Regions from separate parts of the Homo sapiens genome. Here region 1 is linked to region 2. Evidence: promoter capture Hi-C in 16 types of primary human blood cells and fetal thymus (Javierre and others, 2016). All regions are on one chromosome and are shown on one strand. The core of a region is centred on a gene start or on the middle of the fragment in contact, and the rest is flanking DNA. Distances in the headings are between cores, read along the strand shown.

The links. Contacts are between HindIII fragments. The CHiCAGO score rates a contact against its expected background, and 5 or more counts as called.
Region 1: a contact is called between the fragment with the promoter of TSHR here and a fragment that was not itself captured in region 2, in 6 of 17 cell types (non-activated CD4 T cells, total CD8 T cells, activated CD4 T cells and 3 more). The highest score is 13.6, in non-activated CD4 T cells.

The regions. Positions count from the first base shown.
Region 1 is chr14:80,953,465-80,959,462 of GRCh38, reverse strand. TSHR (thyroid stimulating hormone receptor) reads right to left here and starts at 3,842. Exons shown (of 10, transcript NM_000369.5): 1 at 3,613-3,842. The coding sequence starts at 3,782. It also overlaps a transcript of CEP128 not described here. The HindIII fragment of the contact is 2,816 bases long and covers 2,224-5,039 here.
Region 2 is chr14:85,932,817-85,938,918 of GRCh38, reverse strand. It overlaps LINC02328 (long intergenic non-protein coding RNA 2328), which reads right to left and starts at 4,241. Exons shown (of 4, transcript NR_110155.1): 1 at 4,058-4,241. RefSeq lists enhancers at 4,127-4,336, 4,707-4,756. The HindIII fragment of the contact is 3,745 bases long and covers 532-4,276 here.

The sequences.
Region 1 (5,998 bases), core at 2,593-5,092, 5.0 Mb after region 2:
TGCACAGAGGCAACAAATGGCAACTTTCTGAGTAAGAGAGGGTGATGGGTCAATCTTGTTATCCTTGGTTTTGAGATATATGATCTATAATTATATGCCAACATTTAAATTTTTAATTTTATTCTCTTGCTTCATTTAAGTTTCCTTAAATCAGTAATTTTCAATGGAAGAGAGTGATTTTTTTCAAACTACCTACACATCAAAGATTCTAGAATGTTCCACTGGCAGTGGGGGAAGTAGGGATCCCAGCTCTCCCTCACCTTCCACTCAGGTAAAGCATCATACCCTTCTGGAGGGGAGGAGTGAGGAAAAGATACAGCATCACTTCTTCAGTGAGGGCCACAGTCCGTAACTCTCTCCCCTGCATCCATAAGACCACGGGGCTGGGATATGGGTAGTAGGGCAAGAGAGCTGTTTACCTTTCAGAACAATAATCTATGAGTAGAAGATAAAGTTTAGAAAGAGTTGTTCTCGGCACCATCATAATTTGTAAAATGTCTAAGAAGTGGTTATACAGCATCTTAATGAAGGTTGCAGAAGTAATGCAAATAACTCTACAGGAACAAAATACCTTACATTTTAAACCAGTGTAAGCTCTTCAAAAACTTTAAAAAGAGGTACACTCTGAATAATACAAAACTTGTGAGAGAACATGCCTCAGTAGTAGATCCTGTATAATTTAAGTAGATTCCAAAAAGAGGTCACCACCCAGAACGGCTTTTTAATGACAAAAACTTGGTTTATTTCAGCAAGGAATACCTTCCATAACTTAGATCTTTCTTGTCTAGAAAGATGTAAAAAAAGATCTAGATTTTCTTGTCAAGAAAGACTAACTTAGTCTTTCTTGTCCTCCTTGCCTCTCTTCCACTCTCTCTTTCTTCCTTCCTTCTTCTTTCCTTTCCCTGCTAACCTCCTGCTTTCTGAGTTCTTGCATCTGATGAATAGCCCCCGAGGTTATCAGTCGGTTTACTGAATGTGACTTGTTTTCAGACTTTTTTCTCCAAAGCCTATGACCATCAGGGGAACACTGGTGTGGTGAGACACACTTCTCATCTGAGAGTGGTGGCTTAAGGGTGCAGGCTCCATAGTTGATGATATGATATTCAAATCCTGACTTTACCACTTACAAGCTGTGCAACATTGAGCAAATTACTTCATTTTATTTTTGTGCCTCAAGGTCCTCATCTATAAAATGAGCATAATAACATCACCTACTTAATTGGATTTGGTGAGGATTCACTGGGTGAGTTCATGCAAAGCGCTGAGAACAGGACCCCCCGCCCCCGTAAGTAAACACAATATAATTGTTAGCTTTACATGTTTTACTTCTCTCATATGCTTTTCTTCAACAAAGAGTTCTACCGCCCCCAAAAGATTTAAAAATCATTTTTCTACTGTTGCAGATGGTAGTAGCCATTGTTCAAAGGAGACTACCATTTTGTTTTACCCACACTTTTTATCAGGTTTCTCTTTTCGATCTCAGAATAACTTTATTCTTCAGGACATACTACCTCCCTCTCCATTATTCTCAAGGGCAGATCCTCCTTGCCACTGTCTTTATGTCTTTTTCTTGTGATTCAGTGCCTTCCCTCAGACTATTCTCATCAGCATCATGTCATCACCTAGAAAGCACCTAGTTGAACATTCTCTTTTACCCAGAAGGAAATTTGGCTCCTTCCAAATCAGTCATCTTACACAATTTCATGGTTAGTAAAGAAGGGCTAAAGAGAATGCTGGTTTCCTGACTCCTGTTCCATTGCTCATTCTCCATTACCCTTTCTTTCTCAACTTTTGGTGGAATTTTAAACAGGATGTCTACGAGTTCCTTTTCACTGTCAGAGCCACATCTCTCTTCAATGACTTGAATTTCTGCCACTGTTAAAGAAGTCTCTGAAGAAGTGATGTCTTTGGATTTCTTTCTCCCCAACATAGAGTGGACATTCAGAGACCTGGCATATTCATTTGTTTATTTATTCACTTAAGTTTTTTTTTTTTTGTTTTTTCTGAGTGTCTAAGTAGTTCCAGGGTTTCAGGAATTCGGGGTTGAATGGCAGTTCCCTATGTTAGAGAAGCTTGTGTCCTGCTTGAGTGGGCATGCAAATAAATAACAAGTTACAAGAAAGTAGACAATGTCTAAGGGCTAGGGTTAGGTTCATGCAGAGAACGCTGTTGGGAAGGGGGGTATAGCTTACCCAGCCTGAAGGTCATGGGTCAGGAGAAGCTTCCTGCAGGGTTGATCCAGGATCTGGATCTGGGAGTAGGCATTAGCTGGGTGAAGAAATGGGTGAAATGTGCTTCAGGCAGAGGGGCCAGAAAGTGGGAAGAAAGGCAAGGGCAGCTGTAACAGCAGGGACCTTTGGGGAAGTGCCAGAAGTTCTCAGCAGGAGGGGGAAGTTAGAGAAATGAGGAGCAATGAGGTTGGAAAGACTTGACTAGGTCTTGAAAGATCTGGTAGGCTGCACAAAAGAATTTTATTCTAGAGGTGACAAGCAACCTATGTAGAGGTGTAATCAAGAGGCCATTACACCTTTTACACATCTTATTCTGTGGTGGCAGCATGGAGAATGACTACCACACTGTTTGGAGGTTATTGAACTAATTAATTCAGGTGTGCTAAGACACTAGGATATCTCTGAGCACAGAAATATATCTCTGTGCTCAAATATTCATCTACTGTTAAATAGTCTTCATGAGCTAAATTCTTGAGAAAATCTAGAGGTGCAACTTTCCCATTTCTTTTCATCTATCAACATTTTCTTTAATAACCTGCATTTTTTTTTATCTTAACTGGATTTAACCAGCCTAGGTTGTTTTACTGTCCTTTCTTTCTGTTCTCTTTTTAACTAATCAAGACAGACTTTATTCCCTTGGTTTTGTCTACAATTTCAATGATCACTGATTTAAATTGCTGTTAAGAAACAGGTTGTGTGTGTATAATCTTATTTAACATCAGGTTTCTAATCTGGTAACATTTAACATGCAGATAAATGTACTATACTTTTATGAAATTTCATTTCTTTATACCTCTATCACAAAGCAGGGTTCTGGACGTACTATTTCACTGGCAGTTCACATTTGAGTAAGTAACTTACAGATACTGTATAGACAGTTCATTTTAAAAAGGGCCCCTGCTTAAACCTTTGTCAACAATTTGATGAATCAGCAGAACTGCTAAGATAACCTCCCATCTAGAGAAACAAAAAGGAGAAATACATATTTTTGCAATTTTTTATTACCCAAGGTAAGATCAAAAAGGTCAGTTCCTGAGATGCCATTATCCTTATTAATTCAAATAAAACAGATTCAACCAGGGTTAGGCAAAGTGCTGAATAGCAGCTTGTTGGAAAGAACAGCTCTCACGGTCATTGTACACCAAAGTTTTGTAACATTTTCCTGTGTTGGGAATGAGGATGTCAACAATGATACCTTCCCAAGTGTGGGCGATTAAGTTTTTAGCACACACACACATCTACACACACAGACATTCACTCACACATACACACACTCACACACTACTTCGGGCTGTTATTGAGCTGCTTTTGTGCACTTCGGGCCACCTCTGCAGATGCCCTTGATCTCTGGGTCCTACCCTGATCTCTCCCGGGTACTCACAGAGTCTGCGTACTGGGCGGTAAGCTGGGGATGCGTTGAATATCCTTGCAGGTGACTCTGAAGTCCTCCTCCTGATGGCACTCGCAGGGTGGAGACGAACACCCCATTCCGCCCAGGTCCCTGGGCAGGTCGAGCAGCAGCACCAGCTGCAGCAAGTCCGCCGGCCTCATTTTCCACGGGACTCGGGGCTATTTCTCCATCCTCCGAAATCGCCTCATTCTCAGCTCTGCACCTCGGGTTACCCCAGGCCAAAGGAGACCCGGGAGCGGGAGGGGTGGGAAGAGGGAGGGCTCCAAGGGGCTGTGACCTCACCACTGTGGAGGAGGCTGGAGAAGGGGAAAAAGAGGCACTTAAGTGCTCCGCTTCCCTAGGCAACCTTGACCCAAACAAGTCTGCTTGCTTCACTTTCCTTGGCTGGACCCACGCAGTCCGCTCCGTCTGTTCCCTGACACCCAACACCAGTCCTGGCTGTCCCCTCTGTTTTCCAGCCCGCCCCCCCACCCCGGGCGCCCCTCCCATTAGTTCTCTCCAAAGCCTAGTTTAGATGCCCCCTCCTTTCCTCCTCTTTAAATCCAAGGAGCCACCTTCCCTAGCGTGTAGCCTTCTAGACACCCTGTCTGCCTGGGAGCCACTCGCACGCACTCCTTATCCAGAGAAAGTCCCCGCGGAGTGGACTGTCCGCGGGCGGACCAATGTCCTGCAGAACTTCAGCTCCTCCTGGCCAGAGACACCTCTGCTGAGGGTCAGAGGCGGGCACGCAGCCCTGGCTAGCCCGCGGTGCGGCCGAAGCCGTCGCCCTGCACCCCTGGAGGATTCTCGTTGCTATCCAACTGCAGGGGCCACTCCGGTGGTTGAGTCGACTGGCAGCGGCCGCCTCACGTTGCAGCCCGCGGCTCCGCGAGGCAATTCAGGAACTGAACTTTGGGGCCATCTGCTGGGAAGAATCGGGAATGGCAGAAATAATTCCAGGTTCCCTTAATAATGGGTCCAGTATGGAAATTCTGGTCGACCCAAGAATTTCATTGAGTCATATTCCCCCTGGAAGATGGGAAGAAAAATAATACTTAAGTGGCATACTCACCATTCTTCGCACAGTAGCCAAAAAGATCATTACAAACATAAATCAGATTGTGCCTATTTCCTTCTTAAAAGTCTTCAATCACTTATTCCTCTTGGGATAAAAGGAATGTCAATTCCTTCTATACTGCATAATTCCTTTTATATGAACTTGGCTAGGACAGGAAGGAAAAAGTTGTGGTTATGGGAATCAGAATAAAGGTTAGGAAAGATTGACTAGAAAAAGACAGGAGGGAACACACAGGGTTTCCATATCGTAATTAGGCTGGAGGTTAAGTGGATGTATACATTTATCAAAATTCATTAAACCGTACATTTAAAATATGTGTATTCCAAATTTTACAGAAGCTTTATTCATAACCACTAAACGAACCAAGTGTCTCGCGACTAGATAATGGATAAACAAACTCTGATACCTCCACATTGGAATACTATTCTGCAATAAAAATGAATGAACTGCTGATACAACATGCACAAATTTTCTTTTCTTTTTTTTTTTCTTTTGAAACGGAGTCTTGCTCCGTCGCCCAGGCTGGAGTGCAATGGCGCGATCTCGGCTCACTGCAACCTTTGCCTCCGAGGTTCAAGCAATTCTGCTGCCTCAGCCTCCCGAGTAGCTGGGACTACAGGCGCCCGCCACCACGCCCGGCTAATTTTTTCGTAATTTTAGTAGAGACGGGGTTTCACTGTGTTAGTCAGGCTGGTCTCGATCTCCTGACCTCGTGATCCGCCCGCCTCGGCCTCCCAAAGTGCTGGGATTACAGGCTTGAGCCACCGCACCCGGGCTTTTGTTGTTGTTTTTTTAAAAATTACCATGGTATTGTTATGGAACAAATCTTGAATGCATAATGTTAAGTGAAAAAAGCCAAACTCAAAATATTACGTATTTATATGTAATTATTCATATTAATGATTCATTTATATAGCTTTCTCAAAAAGGCAAAACCATAGGGACAGGAAAAAGATCAGCGGTTGCAAAGGCCTAGGGTAGGGCTGACTACAAATGAACACCAGAGAATTTTGTGGGTAATAAAACTGTTTTAAATCTTGTTCGTGGTGATGGTTCCATGGTAGTTTATTAATGTGGTGAATCATAGTGATCGATTTTCGAATGTTAAACCCACCTTGAATTGCAGGGATAAATCTCACTTGATCATGATGTATTTATCCTTTTTTTGTTTGTTTGTTTGAGACGGAGTCTCGCCCTGTCGCCCAGGCTGGAGTGCAATGGCACGATCTTGGCTCACTGCAACCTCCGCCTCCCGGGCTCAAGGGATTCTCCTGCCTCAGCCTCCAGAGTAGCTGGGAT
Region 2 (6,102 bases), core at 1,155-3,654:
CCCTTATCTGATTAAAAAAGTTCCTCCAGAAGTCATGAAATTGTCTTAAAACACACTTCCTAGAAATTTCAACAGAAAACAGGGAAAGATTAACCACTGGAGAAGAGACTAGATCTGAAGTCATCACCACGCTCAGAGAGATTTTTCATCTAGACTTCTGAGGGAAGCTCCAAGAGATTACCAGGGACACTATCTGCATAATAAGACAAATTTTGTTCATGGTGAACATCTCATCACCTTCTCATAACTTGCCACCACCTCGCCCAGATCTCAAAAGAACTTTGTCTTTTTTTAGGCTAATTCATTTCTCTAAACATCATTGCCTATACTCTAAATTGCCTGCACTCCCATCTCCCTCTCCCCTATGAAGAGTGTTATTTAAGCTGCAGCCATCTGGCCCTTCTTTGAGACTCATATTTTCCATGGCTCCCATGCTTCTGCACATTAATAGAGTTATATGACTTTCTTTTGTTAATCTATCTATTGTCAGTTTTTTTCAGCAGCAAATCCTCAGAGAGCAGAAGAGAAGCTTTCCTTTTGCCTCTATAGGAAAAATTAAAAGGCAGAAGATCCAGAATAACCAACACAATCCTGCAGGAACAGAGGAATAATGTTGAGGATTCACACTATCTTATTTTAAGACTTACTGTAAAGCTACAATGATTAAGACCACATAGCATTGACCTCACCTCACCAAAAAAAAACCACATAGATCAGTGGAACAAAACAGAGAGCCTATAAATAGGCCCAAACATATATTCAAATGAATTTATAACTTCCCATTGGGTTCATCTTGCCCACTGCCTAGACAGGGCCAATTTACCAAGACAGGGGAATTACAATAGAGAAAAAGTAATTCACGCAGAGCCAGCTGTGCAGGAGACCAGAGCTTTATTACTACTCAAATCAGTCTCCCTGAGCATTCAGGGATCAGATGTTTTAAGGACAACTTGGTAGGCGGGGGGAAGCCAGTGAGCCAAGAGTGCTGATTGGTCAGGAAGGGGATAAAATCATAGGGAATTGAAGCTGTCCTCTTGGGCCAAGTCAGTTCCTGGCTGGAGCCACAAGATCAGATGAGCCAGTTAATTGATCTGGGTGGTGCCAGCTGATCCATCAAGGGGAGGGTCTGCAAATTTATCTCAATCACTGATCTTAAGAGCAGATTAGGGTTTTTTTGTTTTTTTTTTTTTTTTTTTTTCTGAGACCAAGTCTCACTCTGTCGCCCAGGCTGGAGTGCAGTGGCACGATCTTGGCTCACCACAAGCTCCACCTCCTGGGTTCACACCATTCTCCTGTCTCAGCCTCCCGAGTAGCTGGGACTACAGGTGCCTGCCGCCACACCCGGCTAATTTTTTTTTTTTTTTGTATTTTTAGTAGAGATGGGGTTTCACCATGTTAGCCAGGGTGGTCTCGATCTCCTGACCTCATGATCCACCCGCCTGGCCTCCCAAAGTGCTGGGATTACAGGCATGAGCCACCGCACCCAGCCCATAATTTCTAATCTTGTGGCTAATTTGTTAGTCCTACAAAGGCAGTCTAGTCCCCAGGCAAGAAGGAGGTTTGTCTGGGGAAAGGGCTGTTATTGTTTTTGTTTTAAACTATAAACTAAGTTCCTCCCAAAGTTAGTTCAGCCTACACCGAGGAATGAACAAGGACAGCTTGGAGGTTAGAAGAAAATGGAGTTGGTTAGGTCAAATATCTTTCACTGTCTCAGTTATAATTTTGCAATGGTAGTTTCCATTTTTCCCAAAGATTCAAAGTCAAGTCGATGAAGCAAATGTTGACATTTTAAACAAATAGTGCTGAAACAATTGGATACTCAAATTAAAACAAAAAGAACCTAGCACATATTCTACAGCTTTCACAAAAATTAAGTTGAAATTGATCAAGTACCTAACTTTAAAATGAAAAACTATAAAACATCTAAAAGAAAAAGAAAAGAGAAAATCTATGGAATCTTAGATTTGTCGATGAGTTTTTAAATACAGCACCAAAAGCACAATACATGAAAAAAAAGTAAGACTTTATTAGAATTATAAACATCTGCTCTTTGAGAAATATTAAGAGAGTTAAAGGACAAGCCATAGAATGAGAAAAAAATATTTGTGAAACACATATCTGGTAAAAAAAAAAAAAAGATAGAAAAAATAAAAATAATACATCCAAAATATACAGAGTGATGCTTAAAACTCAAGAATAAAATACAACTCAATTAAAAAGTAAGCAAAAGTTCTAAACAGATACCACCATATATATGGCAAATAAGTACATGTAAAGATGCTCAACATTGGTTGTCATTAGGTATATAAAAATTAAAATAATAATGAGATAACATTGTACATGTATTAAGAGGGCTAAAAACCAAAATATGCTAATACTAAATACTGGTTAGGATGAGGAGCAACAAGAACTCTCATTCATCACCGGAGAAAATGCAGAATGGTACAACCACTCTGATGGATAACTTAGCAGTTTCTAACAAAGCTAAACATATTTTTACCTTGTAATCCAGCAGCTGGGTTCTTAGATATTTACCTAGATGATTTGAGAAATTTTAACTACAGAAAACTTTCACATGAATGTTTATAGAATTTTATAAAATTATCACCAAAAACTGAAAGCTATCAAGATGTTCTTCAACACAGAAATGAATAAACTCTGGTATATCCATACAATGAAATACTATTCAGAGATAGGAAAGAATGAGCTATCAAGCTGTACAAGGACATAGATGATTCTTAAATGTGTATTGCTAAATGAAAGAAGCCAGCATGAAAGGACTGCTGCATACTGCATGATTATATTACATTCTGGAAAAAGCAAACTTATAGAGAGGGTAAAGATATCATTTGAAAGCAGCCTGGGCAAGATGGCAAGACCCTGGCTCTACAAAAAAAATTAAAAATTAGCTGGGCATGGTGGTGCACACCTGTAGTCCCAGCTACTTGGGAGGCTGAGGCAGGAGGATCCTTTGAGCCCAGGAAGTAAAGGTGGCAGTGAGCCATATATATGGTGCCACTGCACTCCAGACTGGGAAACGAAGCAAGACCCTGTCTCTAAAAATGAAAAAATAAAGAAAATAAAGATATCAGTGGTTTCTAGAGGTTCACAGACACAGATTTGAGTAGGTGAAGCACAAGAGATTGCCTAGAGTGGTGAAACTATTCTGTATGATACTGCAATGGTGGATAGATGATATTATGCATTTATCAAAACCCATAAAAGTCTAGAGCACAAAAACTTAACCGTAATGTATGAAAATTTTTAAAAAATTATTTAGGAGGTTAGGAGATCCCAGATACAAGGTAAACTGTGACTATACAACCATCCAATCTTCAACAAGGCCAACAAAAACAAGCAACAAGGAAAGGACACTCTATTCAATAAATGGTGCTGGGATAACTGGTTAGTATGCAGAAGATTGAAACTGGATCCCTACCTTTCACCAGATACAAAAATTAACTGAGGATGAATTAAAGACTCAAATGTACGCTCTCAAACTATAAAAATCCTAGGAAATATCCTTCTCAACACTGGCCTTGGCAAAGAAAATTTGGCTAAGTCCCCAAAAACAATTGCAGCAAAAACAAAAATTGACAAGTGGGACCTAATTAAAGAGCTGCTGCACAGCAAAAGAAACTACCAATAGAGTAAACAGAAAACCTACAGAATGTGAGAAAATATTTGCAAACTATGCATCCAACAAATGCCTAATATCCAGAATCTGTAAGGAACTTACAACAAGCAAAAAACAGAATACATTAAAAAATGGGCAAAGGACATGTACAGACACTTCTTAAAAGAAGACATACAAGCGGCCAACGAACATGAAAGAATGCTTGTCATCACTAATCATCAGGGAAATGCAAATCAAAACCACAATGCTATATCATCTTAAACCAGTTACAATGGCTATTACTCTACAGTCAAAAAACAACATATGCTGGCGAGTCTAGAGAAAAAGGAACATTTATACACTGTTGGTGAGAATGAAAATTAGTTCAGCCACTATAAAAAGCAGTTTGGAGACTTTTCAGAGAACTTAAAACAGAGGTACCATTCAACTCAGCAGTCCCACTGAGACGAGAAGTCTTCTTCTGATGGAAGGTTTTTCTCAATGGAAGCGTTCGTGTCTCACGGGCTTCAAGGAATGAAGCTGTGGACCACAGCAGCGAGTGTTACAACTTGATTAGAGAAACGGGCGGACCCAAAGAGTGTGCGGCTGCAAGATTTGTTAAAGTGAAAGCAAAAGTAAAGTGAAAGCGAAAGTAAAGCTTCTGCGTGGTGGAAGGGGACCCAGAAGGGTTGCTGTTTCTGGCTTGGGTGTCTTATGCTTATATCGCCTTATGACCCCTCCCCTTTTCCTTTTTCTGTCCTATACAATTAGCTTATTTTCAACCCACTTGTGGGTTGATGGGCCTGATTGGTTAAAAACATCAGGCTGTAGCTAGACCTTAAACTCCCTATATGATTGGTTGAAGTTTCAATCCCTTAGCTTGCAGCTGTGACTCATTTTGGCTTAGGGGAAAGTCCCCTTTGATTGGTTGAAGTTTAAATCCCTTAGCTTGCAGCTGTGACTTATTTGGGTTTAGGGGATAGTCCCCTTAGGGAAGTCCCTATTGACCCAGGAAGTCCAGCCAACTTAGCCACTTAGTCCCTCACCATTACTGGGTATATAACGAAAGGAATTTAGGTCATCATACTGGAAAAAACACATGCTATTGTATGTACATTGCCACACTACTCACAATAGCAAAGACATATGTGATGGTTAATACTGAGTGTCAATTTGACTGGATTGAAGGATACAAAGTATTGATCCTGGGTGTGTCTGTGAGGGTGTTCCCAAAGGAGATTAACATTTGAGTTAGTGGGCTGGGAAAGGCAGACCCACCCTTAATCTGGGTGGCACAATCTAATCAGCTGCCAGGTGGCTAGAATATAAGCAGGCAGAAAAATGGAAAAGAGAGACTGGCCTAGTCTCCCAGCCTACATCTTTCTCTTGTGCTGGATGCTTCCTGCCCTGGAACATCCGACTCCAAGTTCTTCAGTTTTGGAACTCAGACTGGCTCTTCTTACTCTTCAGCCTGCAGACAGCCTATTGTGGAACCTTGTGATTGTGTGAGTTAATACTTAATAAACTCCCCTTTATGTATATATGTGTGTTCCATTAGTTCTTTCCCTCTAGAGAACCCTGATACAGATGTTGGTACCAGAAGTGGTCTTCTAGAGGAACAGAATATTAAGGATGTAGTTCTTTCATTGGTTTTGGAATTTCTGGTGTTGGCTGCTTAATATTAGACGCCAAAAATGCTAAGAACTCTACTTCTAATAGCATGGAGAACACTGATAATCCTTGGCATGAACTGTTCGAGAAATATGCAAAATAAATGCATTTGACACTCCTGATTCATCGCTCCTGAGAGGCAAGGATTTTAGTGACTCTACATGTAATACCTTTGACCATATGTGGAGAACCAAGGAACATAATGAAGCTGGTTGGTTGCTCCTAAGTTCAGTGGAAAAAGTGATGAAAGAAAATAATGAACTCAGGGATTCTATCTCCCGGCCTCAGAAGCAGATACTGAGCCTCAAATCTGCTAAGACTGCCCTGAGTGAGAGTCTTATCTTCCTGTAGAGAAAGAGCTGAAATTGTGGAAAAACAGACACAAACCCTTATCATGTAGGCTGACCTGTAATGAAAGATGCATGCACAGCCTCACCAGGTGTCCACTGTTAAAGTGAGCGCTTTGATTAGAAAAGAATGGGGCCCTGCAACTTGGAATGGGGACGTGTGGGAGGACCCTAATGAAGCTGGGGACACTGAGTTTGTAAACTCTGATGAAACTTTTCGGCCAGAGGAAACAGCTTCCCCATCCCCAGTAGAGACAATATCCCCTCCCTGACCCACACTGCCATCAGCCTTTCCACCTTTGTCTGAGGAGATAAACCCTGTGCTGCCTGAGGCAACAGTGATGGCCTCCCTTGAGGCAGTTTCCAGGCAAGGTAAAGTTGATTATCTTCAGGAGCCACCTCCAACACCCCTGTTTCCTTCTAGACCTATAACTAGACTAAAGTCCAGGCGAGCCTCTAGAGGTGAGG